Regions from separate parts of the Homo sapiens genome. Here region 2 is linked to region 1. Evidence: promoter capture Hi-C in human tissues and cell types (Jung and others, 2019). All regions are on one chromosome and are shown on one strand. Each heading gives the region's core, a stretch centred on a gene start or on the middle of the fragment in contact. The rest is flanking DNA. Distances are from core to core; before and after follow the strand shown.

The links. The method cuts DNA at HindIII sites, captures the fragments that hold promoters and counts their contacts. A contact is called where the count stands out against the background at its distance.
Region 2: the fragment with the promoter of GRHL1 here is called in contact with the fragment with the promoter of CYS1 in region 1 in 2 of the 25 tissues and cell types used here (pancreas and stomach).

Annotation. Positions count from the first base shown.
Region 1 is chr2:10,078,782-10,082,868 of GRCh38, reverse strand. It overlaps CYS1 (cystin 1), which reads left to right and starts at 2,458. Exons shown (of 3, transcript NM_001037160.3): 1 at 2,458-2,963. The coding sequence starts at 2,646. RefSeq lists silencers at 2,144-2,383, 2,554-2,613, 2,674-2,913, 2,984-3,323. The HindIII fragment of the contact is 24,294 bases long and covers 1-4,087 here.
Region 2 is chr2:9,948,856-9,952,942 of GRCh38, reverse strand. GRHL1 (grainyhead like transcription factor 1) reads right to left here and starts at 1,250. Exons shown (of 16, transcript NM_198182.3): 1 at 1,090-1,250. The coding sequence starts at 1,109. LOC105373422 (a long non-coding RNA gene) reads left to right here and starts at 2,090. Exons shown (of 3, transcript XR_922784.4): 1 at 2,090-2,238. RefSeq lists silencers at 960-1,499, 1,590-1,639, 1,740-1,789, 1,940-2,019. The HindIII fragment of the contact is 17,390 bases long and covers 1-4,087 here.

The DNA of each region.
Region 1 (4,087 bases), core at 1,209-3,708:
GAGGCCAGGCACGGTAGCTTACGCCTGTAATCCCAGCACTTAGGGAGGCCAAGGCAGGTGGATTACCTGAGGTCAGGAGTTCAAAACCAGCCTGGCGAACATGGTGAAACCCTGTCTCTACTAAAAATACAAAAATTAGCCGGATGTGGTGGTGCGTGCCTGTAATCCCAGCTGCTCAGGAGCCTGAAGCAGAAGAATCACTTGAACCCGGGAGGCGGAGGTTGCAGTGAGCAGAGATCCGGCCACTGCACTACAGCCTGTGCAACAGAGCGAGACTCCGTCTCAAAAAAAAGGCAGGGGGGATCATAAATACTTCCCTTTAAAAAATTTTTTTTCTTTTCTTTTTGCTTTTTCTTTATTGTTTGTTGTTGTTGTTGTTTGTTTTGTTTTTTTTTTTTTTTGAGACGGAGTCTCTTTGGTTGCCCAGGCTGGAGTACAGTGGTGCGATCTCGGCTCACTGCAACCTCCGCCTAACGGGTTCAAGTGACTCCTGCCTCAGGCTCCCGAGCAGCTAGGACTACAGGTGCCCTTCACCATGCCCGGCTAATTTTTGTATTTGTAGTAGAGACAGGGTTTCATCCTATTGGCCAGGCTGGTCTCGAACTCCTGACCTGAAGTGATCCGCTCGCATCAGCCTCCTAAAGTGCTGGGATTACAGCCTCATTTTTTTTCTCTTCTTTTTCTTTTCCCTCTCTGTCTCACCTCTCTTCTCTCTCTCTTTTCTTTTCTTTCTTTCTTTTTTTTTTTTTGAGACAGAGTCCAGCTCTGTTGCCCAGGCTGGAGTGCAGTGGCGTGATCTCGGCTCACTGCAACCTCCACCTCCTGGGTTCAAGTGAGCATGCCCAGCTAATTTTTGTATTTTTAGTAGAGACAGTTTCACCATGTTGGCCAGGCTGGTCTCAAACTCCTCACCTAAAGTGATCTGCTCGCCTCAACCTCTGAAAGTGTTGGGATTACAGGCATGAGCCACCACGTCCAGCTAGATTATAAATACTTTCTTGTTCTTTTTTTTTTTTTTTTTTTTGAGACGAGCCTCACTCTGTCGCCCAGGCTGGAGTGCAGTGGCGCGATCTCGGCTCACTGCAACCTCCACCTCCCGGGTTCACGCCATTCTCCTGCCTCAGTCTCCTGAGTAGCTGGGACTACAGGCGCCCGCCACCACGCCCGGCTAATTTTTTGTATTTTTAGTAGAGACGGTGTTTCACCGTGTTAGCCAGGATGGTCTCGGTCTCTTGACCTCGTGATCCACCTGCCTCGGCTTCCCAAAGTGCTGGGATTACGGGCGTGAGCCACCGCGCCCGGCCTCTTGTTCTCTCTTAATAATAAAAATAAATGGATGTGAATCTGAGTCCCATTTTTATTCCATTTTCTTAGGCATATGTTTTTTAATGTCTACTCCTGAAGTGATAAAATAGTAGAATTTCAAGTCTGTGGTTGGGAAAGTTTAGCCGAAATTCCATTTTCACAATTATTCTGGAATCCAATCAATCAGGATAAAAGTTAATGTCAAGTCAAGATAGGTGAGTTAAACCCAGGACTTTTGAATTGCCCTGTCTTGGAAAGGCTGGAATTTAAAGTTGCAGGAGGTGGGCAAGGGAAGGAAGTAATCACATTTAAGTAAAACACAGAACCAACCAACAGGAAGGCTCGCTGGGTTTGAATTCGGCAGCTTTGGAGTGTTTTCTAGTCTGGGTTGTGGTTAGTTCACTTAAAAAGAAAAGCGGTTAAGGGAAAAAAAAAAAAAATCCGAGACCAAAAGCTAGACTTATGACCACCACCTAGGTATTTCCTTTTGCTTCTTTCCTGTGGCGGGGGGAGGGCGAGGTGGGGGTTGCTTTGCCTTTCTCCTTCATTTTCAAAGTTTTTCTTTCCCAAAAGTAGTGACTATTTGGAGGTTTTGATGAGGCTCAACCTTCACACATCCAGTCTCCGCTGGGGCAACAGAGGGAAGGAGAAGGCCGGAGGGGGCTGTTGGTGCCCGGAGGATCGCCCCTTCCCTCCCGGGGCGTCTCAGGCCTGGCGGACACTGAAAGGTCGGGGCGCACTGACGGCCGGACCTCGCGAACGCAGCGCGCGCAGCCCTCAGGGTCTTTCCCCCGCCCACCCCGCGCATCGCTAGGGGGCTCAGGCTTTGGGAAGTCCCCCCAAGCTCCCGCGGCCTCCCACGGGCCCGGCGAGCGTCGTCTGGGGAGCGTTTCCATAAATGAACAAACTCAGCCGGGCCCCCCGCAGGGTTCAGCAATTCCAGAAGGCCGGGACAGGGCTGACCCGACGGCGGGGAGCGAGGGGACCCGTGGGCGGGAGTGGGGGGACTGTAGGGGGAGACCCGGGAGGGGAGGCCGCGCCCGCACCCGGTGCTCCTCGCCGGGGTCTCGGGCCCGCCCCTCCCTAGGGCCGGTGTGCGCCCCCTCGGGACGCCTATGCAGCCCTGCCTCGCCCGCCCCTCCCCAGGCTCCGGCTCGCACCCCCGTCCTCCGGCCGCGACCCCCGCCCGGGAACCCTAGCCCCTGGCCGCGGTCGCTTCCCGGACCTCGCCCCGCGCCTCCCCCTGCAGCCCGCCCCGGCCGCACCCCCTAGCGTCCCCGCCCCCGGCCGCGCCCCCTCATGGGGGCCCCCTCGGCGGTCCGGGAGGCGGCGGGCGCGCCATGGGCAGCGGCAGCAGCCGGAGCAGCCGGACTCTGAGGCGGCGGCGCAGCCCCGAGAGCCTCCCCGCGGGGCCCGGAGCGGCAGCCCTGGAGGGCGGGACCCGCCGGCGGGTGCCGGTGGCGGCGGCCGAGGTCCCGGGGGCAGCCGCGGAGGAGGCGCCCGGCCGCGACCCCAGCCCCGTGGCGCCCCCCGACGGCAGGGACGAGACGCTGCGCCTGCTGGACGAGCTGCTGGCCGAGTCGGCGGCCTGGGGCCCCCCGGAGCCCGCCCCGCGCCGCCCAGCCCGGCTCCGACCCACCGCGGTCGCGGGGAGCGCGGTGAGTGTGGGAGCCGCAGGGCCTCGGGGGACGGCGGGGACCCCACTCACCGGCCGCGCGTCCCCGCCCCAGCCCTGGGCGCCGGTCGCGCTGCGCCCCCTTCCAGCCTCCGACTTGCGTGCTCCCCGCTGCCCCGGCCTCCCCGCCCCTGGGCCCCCAGGTTTCCTCCCTCTCTGCCCCGTCTCCGGGTCTGTGTCCAGGCGTGGGGGCGATCGCGCTGGGAGCGGCCGAGGAAGGACACCCCTAGGCGGAGCGCGCCGGGCTCCCGGCTCCCCTCGGGCCCGCGGCCCCGCCTGGCCTTCCCGGGCCGCCCTGGAGCGGGGCGCCGGCGGTGGTGGCACGGCAGCCAGACGGTGGCTCAGAAGCGCCCTGCCGCGCCCACCGGTCCAGATCCTTGCCTTGCTGGGCAGGCAATTCTCATGTTACTGATATTTTTAGGATGCTGCGGAATCTCTTTTGCGCTTCCTATTCTCTCTCCCTGAATACTCGTAATAACAGTCCTGCTGTTCTAAAAAAACAATAAAACAAGCACTCTGGTTTGGCAACCGTCTTCGCTCCAGCAGAGCTGAATGAACAAGATCTTTAACATCCGCTCCCGGGCTCGGGGAGGATGCCAAGGGCCTCGTCCTCCTCCCTGAGGCCCGGGAGGCTTTGCTTAGCAGCCGCTGGGAGCCGAGGAAGATGCCTTCCTGGGTGGCTACCGCACCAAGGAATCCTGAAAAGGCCCCAGGGAGGGTGGGGGAGAGGGACAGCCCCAGGCGACAGTGCACAGAGCTCTCTCCCTCTGGCCCTGGTTCCCTGCTCCTCTCCCTTACGGTCTTTAAAGAGGAAAAGCGAGCTGCAGTGAGTAGGGCTGAATTATATAACAAGATTCCTTTAATACCACATCAGCCTGCAGTTATATAACACTGCCTGGACAAATAGCTGAGAAATTTGGGAGGAATTCACACATAGCAAGGAGGCAGTTAATTTTAGTGTTCATTTTCAAGTGCTTTGGAAACTCGGAGGTGAAAATGAGAGGCAAATAGCAAGAGTGAATGTTGTGCCCTCTGATTTGCTGATATTATTCATCATGGTGACTGCTCGCTCTTTAAGTCATTTTCCAGCTATCCTTTGAGCACCGG
Region 2 (4,087 bases), core at 1-2,500, 130 kb after region 1:
TGAAATATGTTTCAGGCAATAATTTAACTGCATATTCTACAACATAAGAGTAATCCATTTAAGATACTCCATACAAAATATCTATCTCATCCAGAAAAAGAACACACTGACAAAAACCGATCCTTCACAAATAACTAAGAAACTGGGAGGGGTACCTATCTGCCTTAAACTTCCTGATCTGAAATATACTGACTGGCCTGGTGCGATTTCCCTGTTTTTTCTTTAGTAAGTTTTTAAAATTTTTAGGACAATTTTATATTTTCAGAAAAGCTGCAAAGAAAATACAGAAAACTCCCTCGCCCAGTTAATCCCCCATGCCTTATTACACTACCACCTCACATTTGTCGAAATACGCTTTTAAATCACACACTCTAAAAAGCATATTAGCTTGTACAGTACTTTCTCGTTTAACACCCGGATTTCAAAGTTTCATCCTCTTGATTCTCTCGAGCACTAAAAACACGGTAATCTGTAATTACCATCAATGATGCAAGTGGCAAAATAACTCCTACAGCCGTTTTCCCACTCATGCCGCCAGCCAGGGAAAAGAAAACGCCCGGACATCGGGGCACTTCAACCTTTCCCTACATTTCTGTTTTGGAGGTTCCAGCAGGTCGCCGAGTGACGAGCCTGAGACCACAGATTACCTGGAGAAGTCCACCTGTCCCGACGCGGCGCGAGCCCCACCAGGCTCCCGAGGCCGACCGGGCAGGAGAGGGGGGCGGGGAGGCCCGGGGGCGTTGGCTGCGCCCCGACCTCGCGCCGCACCCGACCGCGCCGGGGGCCCGGACCCCAAGGTGCGCGCCCGAGGGGACCCAACCTGGCCGCGGAGGAGGGGAGGAGGGTGGCCCCTCCGGTGTCGAGTTTCCCCGAGGACAGGGTCTCTCCTCCCGAGGCTCCGACCGAACAAAGAGCACGGCAGGGCTAAGGGGCAAAGGCCGTGGCGGCGTGGAGTGGACAGCGGCCCCCGGCTCGCGCCCCGCGCCCGCCCGCCCGCGCGGCCTCGGGTCTGCGCCCGGCTCGCTCGCTGCAGGTGCGGCCCCTCAGCGCGGCCCCCCCGCGGCGGCCGGACTCCTGCGCCTCACTCACTTGTCGTACTCCTGTGTCATCGCGCCCGCTCGCCGCTGCCGGGCCGCAGAACTGGACTTTCGGGTTGGGACAGTACACCCGATCCGGGGGGAGGAGGCGGCGGCGGCGGCTGCGGGTCCGGAGCGGCGGCCCCGACGGGTTGGGTTTGCTTTTCTCGCTCTGAGCCGGCTCCGCGCGGGCTGCGCGCACTGGGCGCCGGGCTCGGCCGCTCATTGGCTGGCGATGCGCCGGCTGGGGGCGAGGCCTCGGGGCTGGGAGGCCGGTCGCGCCTCCTGATTGGTCGGCGAGAAGAGCGCCGGGGCGGGGCTGACGGGGACGAGCGGCGCGGGGCGGGGGGCGGGGGCCGCGCGTTCCGCGAGGTTGCGCCCGGGACTGCGCTCCCGGGGCTGCGCGCCCGACTCGCGGCCGTACGCGCCTGCCCTGACAGGAGAGGGAGCGCTGCGGCTGCGGCGCGCACCCGCCAACCTCCGCGCGCACCGAGAGCGCCCCCGCTCGCGCCCCGCCACCGCCCCCGCCGCCCCCGCCGTCCCCGCCGTCCCCGGCCATCCCCTTCGCGACGAGCCCCGGCCGTACAGCCGCCTCCTTCTTCGCTCACTCAGGCCTCCGCGCCCCGTGCCCACATTGCCCGCTGTTCCGGCCCCAGCGCCCCGCGCTGCCCCTGCGCTCGCCCGGCGGGGGCGCCTCTGCCGGTCGCCGCGCTCCCCGGTCGCGCGTCTCACCTCTCGGTTCTCGCAGGCTGTCACGCCCGAGTCCCGTGGCTTCCCCCGAGAGCCGTCTCCGGAATGTCCCTTCTCCTGGCCCACCGCGGCCGCGCGCTTTTAGGATTTCTTGCCCTCGCAGCTCCCGCGGTCCCCTCGGCGGCAGTCCCTGGGGCTCCGCGATGTCTGTGCCCCGCAGCCTCCCGGGCGCCACTTCCCCGCGCGGCCGCCCCACGCTGCCCGTGCAGTCGCGCGCCCCGGGCCGGCCCCGGGCACCACTCCACCGCGACGGCCCCCACTTGTCCTTCCCGAGCTGCCGTCTTTCCCAGGGTCCGCTCACTGAGTCCCCACATGCCCAGCGTCGGACCTGACCCTCGGACAGGCGCGGCCCCAGACGCCGGGGACAGGGCAGTCAACAGAACAGACACAACTCCTCGCCTTCCTAGTTGGGGTAACGGGCAATACAAAAACAAGTAAATGGTGTGGCTGGTTGGAAGGTAAAGCAGGCAGGCCCTGGGGAGGCGGGGAGGAGCGAGGCTTTCAGGCTTGAAGGAGATGAGGGGCCACGAAGGTGGGACTGTACCTGAGGCAGGGACCCTGGTGTGTTTTGTGACCCTTGAGGAGACCCGGGTGGCTGGTGGGGCACAGGGAGGCGGGAGCTGCGGTCAGAGATAGTGGGCGCAGGGGAGCGGATTGAGCAGGGCCTTGCCGGCTTCCGTAAGGACTGTGGCTTTCCCTCTGGGCTAGGTGGGGACGCCTTGGAGGGGCTTGGAGCAGGGTAGTGACAGGGTCTCACATTTTAAAATAGTTCTCTGCTGCTGCGTGGTGGGGACCAGGTAGGAGGCCATTGCCATGATGCAGGCCGAGGGCAATAGAGTGAGGTGGTGGGAAGTGGCCGAATTCTGGATATGCTTTGAAGGTGGGACCAGCAGGATTGTCTGAAAATTGGATATGGGGTGTGAGAGAAAGAGAGAATCAAGGATGACTACAGCGTTTCCAGCTGGGCAACTGGAGGAATGATTTGCCATCCCCTGGGATACAGAAGACCTGGGGCATAGAAGATTTGGGGGAGAACGAGAGTCTGTTTTGGACGTGCTAAGCTCAAGATGTATGGGAGATAAAAATCCATGAATCAGGTGGGCTCCTGGGTACGAGGCTGGAGTGCAAGGGAGAAGTCTGGGCTGAAGCTCACATCTGGGCGCCGCCCACGTCTAGAGGCCATTTAAAGCCATGAGAAGGCAGGAAGGAAAGAGGATGGGACCCATGCTGGATCCAGGAGCCTCCGACACAGAAAGGCTGGGAGGAAGAGCCAGTGGAGGAGACAGAAGACGGGGACACCGAGGTCGGAAGCAATGGAAGCGTGGAAGCCAAGGGAAGGAGGTGAAGTGAGGAGCAGCATGAGGTCACAGGGCCCTCCTGCAGCCAGCAGTCCCTCCTCTGTGCCCTGGTCCAAGGCCTTCAGGGACCGGAATCGGCAGCCTCACTTGAGACCGCCCTTCGCAGTTTCTGTCCTCTGACCCCGGGCCCAGCACTGGATCCATGCAGCCTGTTGTTTGTTCTTACCACTAGTTTCCTGTTTAAATCATTTATTATTTTTTTCTTTTCCTTTTTTTTTTTTTTTTTTTTTTTGAGGCGGAATCTCCCTCTGTTGCCCAGGCTGGAGTGCAGTGCCGTGATCTCAGCTTACTGCAACCTCTGCCTCCTGGGTTCAAGCGACTCTCCTGCCTCAGCCTCCCAAGTAGCTAGGATCACAGGCGCCCACCACCACGCTCGGCTAATTTTTCTATTTTTAGTAGAGATGGGGTTTCACTAAGTTGACCAGGCAGGTCTCAAACTCCTGACCTCAGGCAATCTGCCCGCCTCGGCCTCTCAAAGTGCTGGGATTACAGGCATGAGTCACCGCGCCCTGCCAAATCAATTATGTTTTCTAAGCACGCTAATTTAAGAAAAATGCTAGTCAATAACAGCACAGATGGTCCCAAATAGGGTACAAGTCATCAGGGTGGTGCCAAAGTGACTGACTTGGGAACAGTGTCCCTCTACCTGCCTTTCTTCTATTTCCTCTGACCCGGCTCCACACTGCCACTGGAGTGGCCTTTATAAAACACAGATTTCTTGTCACTCAGTTATACTCACCATAAAGTCCACACTCCTGAGCTCAGCCTCCCCTTGGCGGCCCAGCACTTCCCTTACTGCTCACTCCCAAGCACCGTCCCCGCATTCCCTGCTCCTTCCCTCCATGCTTGGCCCACTCCACTCAACTTCCAGCCTGGCTCATTTCCTCCAGGTGGCCTTCCCAA